Linked DNA regions of Homo sapiens: region 2 is linked to region 1. The links are contacts of gene promoters, found by promoter capture Hi-C in human tissues and cell types (Jung and others, 2019). All regions are on one chromosome and are shown on one strand. The core of a region is centred on a gene start or on the middle of the fragment in contact, and the rest is flanking DNA. Distances in the headings are between cores, read along the strand shown. Region 1 holds the start of EGR3 (early growth response 3). Region 2 overlaps CHMP7 (charged multivesicular body protein 7).

What was found. The method cuts DNA at HindIII sites, captures the fragments that hold promoters and counts their contacts. A contact is called where the count stands out against the background at its distance.
Region 2: a fragment that was not itself captured here is called in contact with the fragment with the promoter of EGR3 in region 1 in 1 of the 25 tissues and cell types used here (spleen).

Annotation. Positions count from the first base shown.
Region 1 is chr8:22,691,995-22,697,023 of GRCh38, reverse strand. EGR3 (early growth response 3) reads left to right here and starts at 3,544. Exons shown (of 2, transcript NM_004430.3): 1 at 3,544-4,233. The coding sequence starts at 4,080. LOC105379321 (a long non-coding RNA gene) reads right to left here and starts at 2,167. Exons shown (of 3, transcript XR_001745832.2): 1 at 1,810-2,167; 2 at 1,492-1,580; 3 at 692-1,083. It overlaps LOC107986926 (a long non-coding RNA gene), which reads left to right. Exons shown (of 2, transcript XR_001745831.3): 2 at 1-417. RefSeq lists silencers at 1,233-1,472, 2,253-2,472, 3,355-3,518, 3,463-3,582, 4,445-4,514 and 2 more and enhancers at 2,583-2,682, 2,723-2,832, 2,665-3,310. The HindIII fragment of the contact is 10,174 bases long and covers 1-5,029 here.
Region 2 is chr8:23,254,780-23,259,808 of GRCh38, reverse strand. It overlaps CHMP7 (charged multivesicular body protein 7), which reads right to left. Exons shown (of 11, transcript NM_152272.5): 4 at 4,377-4,562; 5 at 3,216-3,349; 6 at 1,728-1,776; 7 at 1,360-1,479; 8 at 979-1,077; 9 at 683-743. Among named protein-coding and RNA genes, the nearest start is that of CHMP7, 14 kb to the right of the region's middle. The HindIII fragment of the contact is 3,113 bases long and covers 1,429-4,541 here.

The DNA of each region.
Region 1 (5,029 bases), core at 2,295-4,794:
GAACCCTGGACTCCATCTGCCACCATCATCGAGGATGACAGGGGACATCTTTGCAGGCTGCAACCTGAACAGGCACTGGGCACTGAGGGCCTAACCTTGTAGGGCAGGCATTCGCCAGCATGGTTCCTTCCAGCAGAGGAAAGAAGGCTCCCTCCCATTCCAGGAGCCACACCACCCCCAAAAGATGTCTGAAAGGCTGCTCCAGAGTGTTAGAGAGCAACTGAGTGACTTCTTTGAACCCTGCCTTGTGTCACCACCAGCTGTTGAGGGCTCAGCTCAGTTCATGTCTGGGCTCCTTCAGACCGGGGACCATTCCTTAACCATCCCTGGATTGGGACAGTGCCCAGGAGATACTAGGCACACAGATTTCGTTTCCCCCCCTAAATAATCAACATTATTAATACTTCTTGCATATGATCACGCTGGTCTGTGATGGAGTTCCATACCTGGCCTTTTTTACTACCTATATCATCTAAATTTACTCCTGCCACACACGAGAGGGAAGGGCATATCTGTCACAAGGCTGGGTGGGGAAGAATAGTTTAACAACAATTGCAGTTTATCGGGTGCTTGCTTAAGGGACTGGCAAGTACTCTATGAGGATTATCTAATTTAATTATTCCTAAGGGGTAGATACTATTATCCCAATTTACAGACAAGGAAACTGAGGCTAAGAAAAAAAAAACAGACGTTTGCCCAAGGTCACAGTGAAGCTTTAATGAAGACTTTAATTGAATTGAAGGCTCCCGTTTTATGCAAAGAACTAGTAGAAAGGAGAGGGAAGGAATCGTGTCCCCAGACTCCTATCCAATCTTGCTGACGGGTAAGCAAGCCCTGGTGCAGGTCAGCAAACCTTGCCCCATGCTCTTCTACTTGGAAGCAACAAGTCCAGCGTGCCGAAAAGTGTTGGGAGAGAGGCCGTCTCCTCCAGTTGGGAGTGGCTGCACTCCACAGCCTCTGGGGCCCTGGAAGCTTAAGGATCCCAAATGCTTCCACTGCCTCTGCCTTTCCCAACTCAGGCCCCAGTCGAACAGGATAAGGGCTTCTAGCTCCTCACTCTGCAGCCCCTCCTGGGGAGAGATCCTGACAGGTGGAAAGTGGGTGCATCACGGTGGGGTCCTCCGGAGTTGAGCTGGGCGGCCCGGAGGCCTCTCACTTCCTTCCCACCACCCCCGCAGGCTGAGCTCTGCCTCGCGCGGGGAGACATGGGCACTGCAGCCTTCGGGCCTGCAGCTCGCCCAGGACCGCGGACCCCACAGCGTCTCCCGGCCCCAGGCAGGAACCCGTGGAGACCCTCCGCAGCCTCCGGGTGCACGCGCAGCAGGAAGCACTCTGGAGGGGCCAGGTCTGGGACTGGCGCGCCCGAAGCTCGCTGGTTGCCGCCCCTCCCTGGCCCTCCCTGCTGCCGGGCTCTACGGCCAGAGGCCAGAGCCGCTGGCTAATTTTTCAGGCCCCCACCCCCACCCCCACCGCCTCCCTGGGTGACGCTACAGCCTGTGCGGTTCCTTTAAAGGCTGCGGGTTCCGTTCTTCTTTCCTTTTCCACTGGATGCCAAAATATGCAAATCTTGGGACCGGAATCTGCAGCCAAATCGAGAAGGAGAAGGGGCGCGGCCGGCGCGTCACCGGATCCGCTCCTTGTATGGCTCTTCCCGGCTTGGCCCGCCGCCCTGCGACCCTCCCCGCAGCCGCCCGGGCCCCTCCCGCACCTAGCCCGGCTCACACCGCCGCCCACGCCCCCCGACCGGCCGCGCGCCCCCCCTAAGGGAGGGAGCCGGGGGCGGGAGGCGCAGCCTGCCCTGATTCTGACCGGAGCGCGGGACCGCTGCAGCGCTCTCCCTCCCTGAGCCGCGCTGGCGGAGGACAGCCCGGGGGGCGCTGTGGCTCCCTAGTATAGGAGTGGGGAGCCTGGCGGGAGAGGCGGCGGGGGTGGAGAGAGGGGGCTCGCGGGAGGCGGGAATCCCTCCTTTCCTAAGAACTGGAGAAGATGGGGGGAGGCCGGGCCCTCCGGTCCCCAGCCCTCCACTGAGTGGAGGGGAGGGGAGGGGAGCGAGGTTGTCATCCACCTCCACCACAACGTGCAGCTCGGGAGTTCCTCCCACACGTCCCCGGCCCGCGTGGCCCTCCCACGGCGTGAGGCCCGGGGATCCTCTCTTCTTCCTTGTCAACACTCCCACTCCCCCCGAGAAATGCACGTTCCCCCAACCCCGACTCCCCAGGAGGGGACGAGGGATTCACCGCGCCCACGCGGCCACCGAGGAGGGAATCCTCCCCCGCCAAGCCGATGTGATTTGGGGTCGCACCCCCATGCTCCCGCCCTCTCCTCCCCCTCGCCCGCGGGCCGGCTGCGCGCGCCTCGGGAGCAGGCCCCAGGGAGCACAGCAGCCGCCCCCGGGATCTGCTGCCGCTCCGGGAGGTGAAAGCGCTCCGGGTCGGCACACAGGCCGCCCTTGACTGCGGAGCGCCGGCAGGCAGCAATGGGGACAGCCCTGTGGAAGGCGAGGGGGAGGGCAGAGACTAGGGGAGGCCCCCAGTGGCTCAGAGACTGTGGGTTCGGCGTCCTCCTTCTGGAACTCTGGCGGGCCCTTCGCAGGCAGCAGTAGACAGCGACTGCGCCCGGGCCTGCTGGGCCCTCCTGCCATCCTGTGGCCACAGAGGCTGCTTGGAACCGTTAGGGAATTTACTGGGGATTCAGTGCACGTGTTTATCTATCCCTTCAACTTCATTCTTTCCTCTTCACCACGAAAACCGCACATCCTCGACCCCATATGGATGGGGCTCTTGTCTTTGGCGCAACTGCTGGGGTGCTCCGAATCTCCTCGCCACTGCGCTCAGCCTAGAGTCAGCGCCGGGTCAGGGGCCCAGGGAGGGGCAGGGGCGGCGAATCAGAGTGAAGTTGGCACAAAAGTTCTTGGGATATTGGACCAAGGAATTCTGACAAGTTGAAACACCCCCCCAACCCTGCGCGCACCCCTCCTTCCCCCCACAAAGGGAAGCACTCCCTTTCTCTTAATCTCGGATAGGATCCCGAACGCTGGAGCCGCTGAGGTAGCAGGGGCGCAACGCACGCCTTCCGGGTTCCCCAGCAGTTCCCGGGCTGCAAAGGGATTTCGCCAGATGTTTTCAACTCTCTTTCTAACTGCTGGGGTGTTGGAGACCACTTGCAAACAACCCCACCCCACCGCCCACCTCTCCCCAATGCGCTCTCCTAACGCAAACCTCAAATAAACACACACAATGAGTTACTGGTGTTTCGACTCCACGCTACGCGCTTTGCGCTTTGCATGCAGCTGTATCCTTCTTTCCTCTCTCTTCTCGCATTCTTCTTGTTTCTTCTCCCCTTCTCTTTTTTTCAAGAGCCGCGAGCGGTGCGGGCGCCGCACGTTGGCTGCGGCCCGCTTCCTGCTTTCTAATGTTCCATTGTGAGGAGCTTCCATTGTGACGTCGCGCCCCTTCGGCTGGGCTTTGTCTGTCCATATATGGGCAGCTACGTCACGGAGCTTTCCCGGGGCTCAGATAAATAGGCTGGTGGAGTTCCCTGGCTGGGAGCTTTTGGGCAGCAGTGAGCTTGCTAGGAAGCGGCGGGGCTGGTGGTGGTGGTAGCAGCGGCGGCAGCGGCGGCAGAGGCGGCGGCGGCGGCGGCGGCGGCGGCGGCGGTGGCGGTGGCGGTGGCGGTGGCAGATCGGGGGGCGGGGGGGCGGCGGGCGCGTGTCTGTTTGTGAGATCAATACTGAGGCCGCGTCCGACCCCCTTGAGCCGAGATCCCCCCCCAGCCCAGCCCCCACCCCACCCCCCGCACACGCCCCACCCCCCCCACGACCCAGCCTCATACCGCACCAGCTGAGGCACCCAAGAGGATTACCCCCTGGGGCCCTCTCCCGCCCCCCAAAAAAGAGAAGATCCCCTCTCCTGGCCCATCCCTTCCCTTCTTCCCTCCCCCCTCCCCCCGAACTTTCCCTCTCGCATGCTTTTCCCCTGCACCACGGATCGCCTCTCGGATGCCGCTTGCCTGGAAGCTGCGTTAGGAGCGAGCGGCGGCGGTGGCGGCGGTGGCGGCGGCGGCGGCAGCTCGGGAGTGCTATGACCGGCAAACTCGCCGAGAAGCTGCCGGTGACCATGAGCAGTTTGCTAAACCAACTGCCTGACAATCTGTACCCCGAGGAGATCCCCAGCGCGCTCAACCTCTTCTCCGGCAGCAGCGACTCGGTAGTCCATTACAATCAGATGGCTACAGGTAAGGGCGGCGGGGAGGCGGCGAGGCAGCGAGGAAGGAAGGGGAGAGGAAGAGGAGGAGGGGACGACCTGGTGATGGATGGATGGATGGATGGATGGATGGATGGATGGATGGGTGGATGGGTGGATAGATAAATGGATGGAGAGATGGGGGCGCGCTGGGAATTTTGCGGGGGGCGAGTTGCTTTTCCCACCCACTCCTCCCGCCCTCCTCGATCGAGAAGGCTAGGTTGGCGACGCCACGGTAGAGGCTTCGGTTCTCCCGGGTGGGGGCAGCCGCCGACCGGAGGGAGGTAGGTGCGAGCGGCTCTGGGGTTCTCCCTCACCACGCAGGGGGCCCGATCGCCGGGCTACGCGCAAGGCGTGGTGCTGTCGCCCTCTTCCCGGGAGGAGCCCGGCGTCTTTTTCACCCGCGCTCTCCCCCCTTACTCCCTCAGCCTCCCACCCGGGATGGAGCCATGTGCGGCGTGGAGTCCCCGCGGTGGGAGAGGTACTGCGACGCTGCCTTTCCGGGGCGTTCAGCAAAGCCGTGGGGGTGTGGGGACGGCGGGGAGAAGGAGGGGGTTCACCCGCGGGGCGAGGGCCTGCCACGGGGAACGATCCCGGGGCCGGGGAGCTGGGGAAGGGCGGCCTCTCCCGCCATGGAGACACCGGCCGGTTTTCCGCCGCTCTCCACCCTCCCTAGCTGGGGCTAGGATTTTCCCCTCCAGCAAGAGCCTAAAGCTCCTTCATGCCCGAGGAGGCTGGGGCCGGGGTAGGTGAAGGGAGAGCTCCCTTTGAGGGCGACACCCTTCTAC
Region 2 (5,029 bases), core at 1,736-4,235, 560 kb before region 1:
GGCAATTCCCTGACTGCTCCCGCAGATGAGCCCCAGGGAGGGCAGGCTAGGAGAGGCCTGCCTGCACCCGGAAAAGCAAATCTACTGTCAAACTCATCACAGCACAGGGAAGCGAAGTCTTCCAGGATGAAAGGAAGAAACACTCACCTTGGGCCAGGTGTGGTGGCTCACACCTGTAACCCCAGCACTTTGGGAGGCCGAGGCCGGCGGATCACGAGGTCAGGAGTTCCAGACCAGCCTGACCAACAGGTGAAACCCCATCTCTACTAAAAATACAAAAATTAGCCAGGCGTGGTGGCGGGCGCCTATAATCCCAGCTACTCAGGAGGCTGAGGCAGGAGAATCACTTGAACCCAGGAGGCGGAGGTTGCAGCGAGCCGAGAATGCGTCACTGCACTCCAGCCTAGGTGACAGAGTGAGACTCCATCTAAAAAAAAAAAAAATGACCCCGTCTCTACTAAAAATACAAAAAATTAGCCGGGCATAGTGGCAGGCGCCTGTAGTCCCAGCTACTTGGGAGGCTGAGGCAGGAGAATGGCGTGAACCCGGGAGGCGGAGCTTGCAGTGAGCCGAGATCCCGCCACTGCACTCCAGCCTGGGCGACAGAGCGAGACTCCGTCTCAAAAAAAAAAAAAAAAAAAAAAAATGAATAAAAATAAAAATAACCACCTTGTCCACTCACCTAAGCCATTTGTTACCCCACCAGCCAGAGTCTGAGAAACTTCATCCTGGGTGTCACAGAGCTGTAAGAGACAAGTGCAAAGCCTTGAGCTGGGCATGGTGGCTCTGAGCATCTCAGTCTTTGGTGGAAAATATCTAGGGTTACAAAGCAATCCTGCCCCAAGTGAGAATCAAGGAAAGCTTCCTCAAGTTCACAAGGTCACAAGTCAGGTTTCGTTAAAGAGGATGTGCAATGAAGTCAAATCTGTCCTCTGTCACCTCCTTCTCTGTGTGTCCCTCCCTGGCCCCTTTCTGTACCTCTTGGATCTGATCCACGAGGCTCTCTGCCTTCTCCACTGTGACATCCTTCATGGAGAGTTTGAGTGCTCCTACCCCAGCCTGGTAGGCGTTAAAAACCTAAAGACAAAGCAAAGCTATCAGTGCAAATGACAGACATTTGGCAAAATACATACAATATTGTTTCAACTCCAAAAGGCAGCTTTGGGGTGTTTTTTTTGGCACCCAAGCTCAATTTACCCTATACCCACCGAGGCCAAACCTCCTGACTGGAAAGGCAAAGGCAACCCCAGCCACATCCCGAAAGAACCCAGGGATCCTCCAAACAGCCAAGCCGAAGCTGCAAGTGACCAACACACACGGAGAGACCAGCCAAGTGCTGGAGTAGAGGGGAGTGACTACCATCTGATCTGTCTGGGAGGCATAGATCCGGTCCAGGATGCCTTGAACAGTGTCCAGCTTGGCATGCAAGGCCTCGATGCGCTTCTCTGTCCGTTGCTTGGCCTTGAGAGACCTCAGTGCCTGGAGGCATGGAGACTTAGGTCAGTGCTGAACTGGGCGAGCCAAAGGGCAAGAGGAAGACAGCCCTTCCCAGACGCTAAGGATGTCCCAGCTTTCTTCCCTCCCATCTGTAAAATAAGCTGTGGTGCCTGGGCCCCCTGCAGACTCTACCCCCCTCAAAACCCCAGCAAGCTGCTCTCTGAACTGCTGGGCATTGCTCCAGGCCTGCCTGGGGCACTGCTATGGGTCTGGAGGAGACAAGAACTCACCAGCTGCTTCTTTCCTGCTCGGCATGCCCGGCGGGCTTCTTCTTTACACCTGGAAACAAAGGGACAGATAAGATTACTGTGCCACAGGATGGGAGTGGCAGGGTCCCAAAGGGTCCCTGAGAGCAGCACTCAGTTAAGGTGGTTTTAAATCTGAAGACTAAACCCAATACCCAGTGGCAAGAAAACTGATGCTGACGGCAAAAACTCTTGTGGCAAGTCTGTTGACAGTCTGTTGTGGCAGGCTCAAGCAGGCTGACTAAGGATAAGCTTTTTCAACCCACAGGGACAGAACATGCAAACAGGGCACATTATACACATCTTCCTGTTTTGGGGAGACAGGGAAGGAACTGTTAACACCAACAATGACCTCGGACATATCCTCTGCCTCCCAACAAGGCTAGACTTTCCCACCTGGAAGACAGACTTCAATGTCTGTGTTCTCCTGCCAGAGGGTGTGTCTTTATTAGGGATTCCTTGTACAGTCATTCAGGGGGAAGGGCAGGGGAAGAGCCCCTCAGAAAGACCTCTGCAAAGGCAGGGACCTGTCTTGTCCACGGCTGTATCCCCAGTCCCTAAGACAATGCCTGGCTCAATAAATATTAGTTGAATGGACACTGGCAAGGAAGAGCATAAACATAACATTCACAGTCATGGTCTGTGGGGGAAGCATTAAGACTCACGTTTTCAGCTGGGCACAGTGGCTCACCCCAGTAATCCCAGCACTTTGGGAGGCTGAGGTGGGGGTCTTGTTTGCGCCGAGGAGTGTGAGACCAGCCTGGGCAACATGGTGAGACCCCATCTCAACAAAAAATTAAAAATTAGCCAGGCATGGTGGTGCACACTTGTGGTCCCAGCTACTCAGGAGGCTAAGGCGGGAAGATTGCTTGAGCTCAGGAGTTAGACTGCAGTGAGCTAAGATCATGTCACTGCTCTCCAGCCTAGGGGACAGTGCAAGACCCTGTCTCAATTGAGGAAAAAAAAAAAAAAAAAGGCCGGGCACGGTGGCTCACGCCTGTAATCCCAGCACTTTGGGAGGCAGAGGCGGGCGGATCACGAGGTCAGGAGATTCAGACCATCCTGGCTAACACAGTGAAACCCCATCTCTACTAGAAATATAAAAAATTCGCCAGGCGTGGTGGCGGGTGGCTGTAGTACCAGCTACTCGGGAGGCTGGCGCAGGAAAATGGCGTGAACCCAGGAGGCGGAGCTTGCAGTGAGCCGAGATCGCACCACTGCACTCCAGCCCGGGTGACAGAGCGAGACTCCGTCTCAAAAAAAAAAAAAAAAAAAAAGAGGCCTCATTTTTTTTTCTCTTTTGTGATATTCTGTGCTTTCCATGATTTCTGCATTGAGCAGTGAGTACTTTTGTAATTAGCTAAAAAAAAAAAAAACCCACCTATTTTTTAAAAGCCCACATATACTAACATTTTGCTGGCTCTGGGGGCCAGCAACAGTGGGGAGGAGGCTCAGTTCAGGGTTAAAAGTTACCTCTCTGCTTCCTGGGATAAGGACTCCACTTTGCGTGAGAGAAGCTGTTCACTCTGCATCAGCTGGTACACCCCAACATCTACGTCATTGACTGGAGAGACCTTGGCACGTGGCCCTCGGGCAAACTTCACAATCTGAGGGACAGGGAGAAATTACTACTGCTGCTACCACAAAGGCTGAGAAATTCCCAACCAGGAGCGCTGGTGGTGGGCATGTGAGAACAGCAGGCCCCCCTTATCCATGGGGGATATGTTCCAGTGAATGGAATCCCCTGTGGAGGTCTGAACCCTCAGAGAATACTGAACCCTATACATATAGCTATGTAAACATTTTTCCTTCTTCACAATTTTTCCTATAGAAGATTCATTCTTACTGTAGATCCTAGCAAACTCAGCAAATGATATTTGGTCTTCCTTATTTGGTCCAGAACTTTTACCTTTTCACTTAAAGGAAGCACTTGACCGCTTCTCTTTGGTAAATCTGGACTGCCAGCACCACTGCTCTTGTGCTTTGGGGCCATTATTAAGTATAATAGGCCAGGCACGGTGGTTTACACCTGTAATCCTAGCACTTTGGGAGGCCGAGGCAGGCAGATCACTTGAGGTCAGGAGTTCAAGACAGCCTGGCTAACTGGTGAAACCCCTTCTCTACTAAAAATACAAAAATTAGCCAGGGGCCGTGGCGCATGCCTGTAATTCCAGCTACTTGGGAGGCTGAGGCAGAAGAATCGCTTGAACCCGGGAGGCGGAGGCTGCAGTGAGCTCAGATTGCGCCATTGCTGGGCGACAGAGCAAGACTCCATCTCAAAAAAAAAAAAAAAAAGTACAATAAGGGTGGCTTGAACACAACCACTGCAATGCTGTGACAGTCAATCTGATCACTGAGACGACTCCTAAGTGACTCAGGCGGGGAGATGCTGGACAAAGCAGGGATGCGCATACAGGCGGGATACTACGAGGTCCCATCACACTACTCAGAACAGTGCACAACTGAAATCTATGGAACTGTTAATGTTTGGAATTTTCCACTTATTATTTTTGGACCGTGGTTGACGGCAGGTTACTGAAACTCTGGAAACCAAAATCTGAGATAAGGGCTCACTACTCTATGTACTTAATCAATCACTGCTGAGTCAGTGAATGAACAGATGAGCCTCCATACCTTCTCCCCGTTCTGCTCGAGGACTGTGACCCTCTTCTCCTTCTGCAGCTGCAGCAACACCAAGTAGAAGGTCCTCTCATCTGGGCAGGAGTTAGCACAGAGGGTGCTGAGCTCTGACAGGGCCACCACGGGGTGGGAGGAGAGGGGCGAGTTCTGATACAGACGATACACCTCCTCAGCCTTTTCCTGTGGGAAAGGCAACATTGGCTGACAGGCCCTGGCCACTGCCATGGGATGCAGGGACCCTGACCCTGAGTTTCAAAACCATGATCACACAAGGCAAGCACCCGGGAATCCCAACCCCATCCTCCCCAAAGTAGCGGCTTTTCAAAAAGGAGGAAGGATCTGTGTTTTTAAGCCTTGGAGGAAAGTTTGGTGACTCCACATGAAATGAGGCACATGAGATGCTGGGAGCCAGCTCTGCGCTGCACGCCCATCGGGGATTTTACACTCCTGCCTCTCACTGGCCTGTGGTTTCCCAAGGGAAGACTGAGGAGGTGAGGTGAGGTAGAACAGCTGTGAACGAGAGCTGAGGCCTGATTTCCAGCCTAGCCTGGGTGACCTTGGGCCAGTCACAGCCTCACTAGTCCTCAGTATCACTCTCTGAAGAGGGTGGATGAAATGACATCTAATTCCCTTCCAATTGTAGTCTC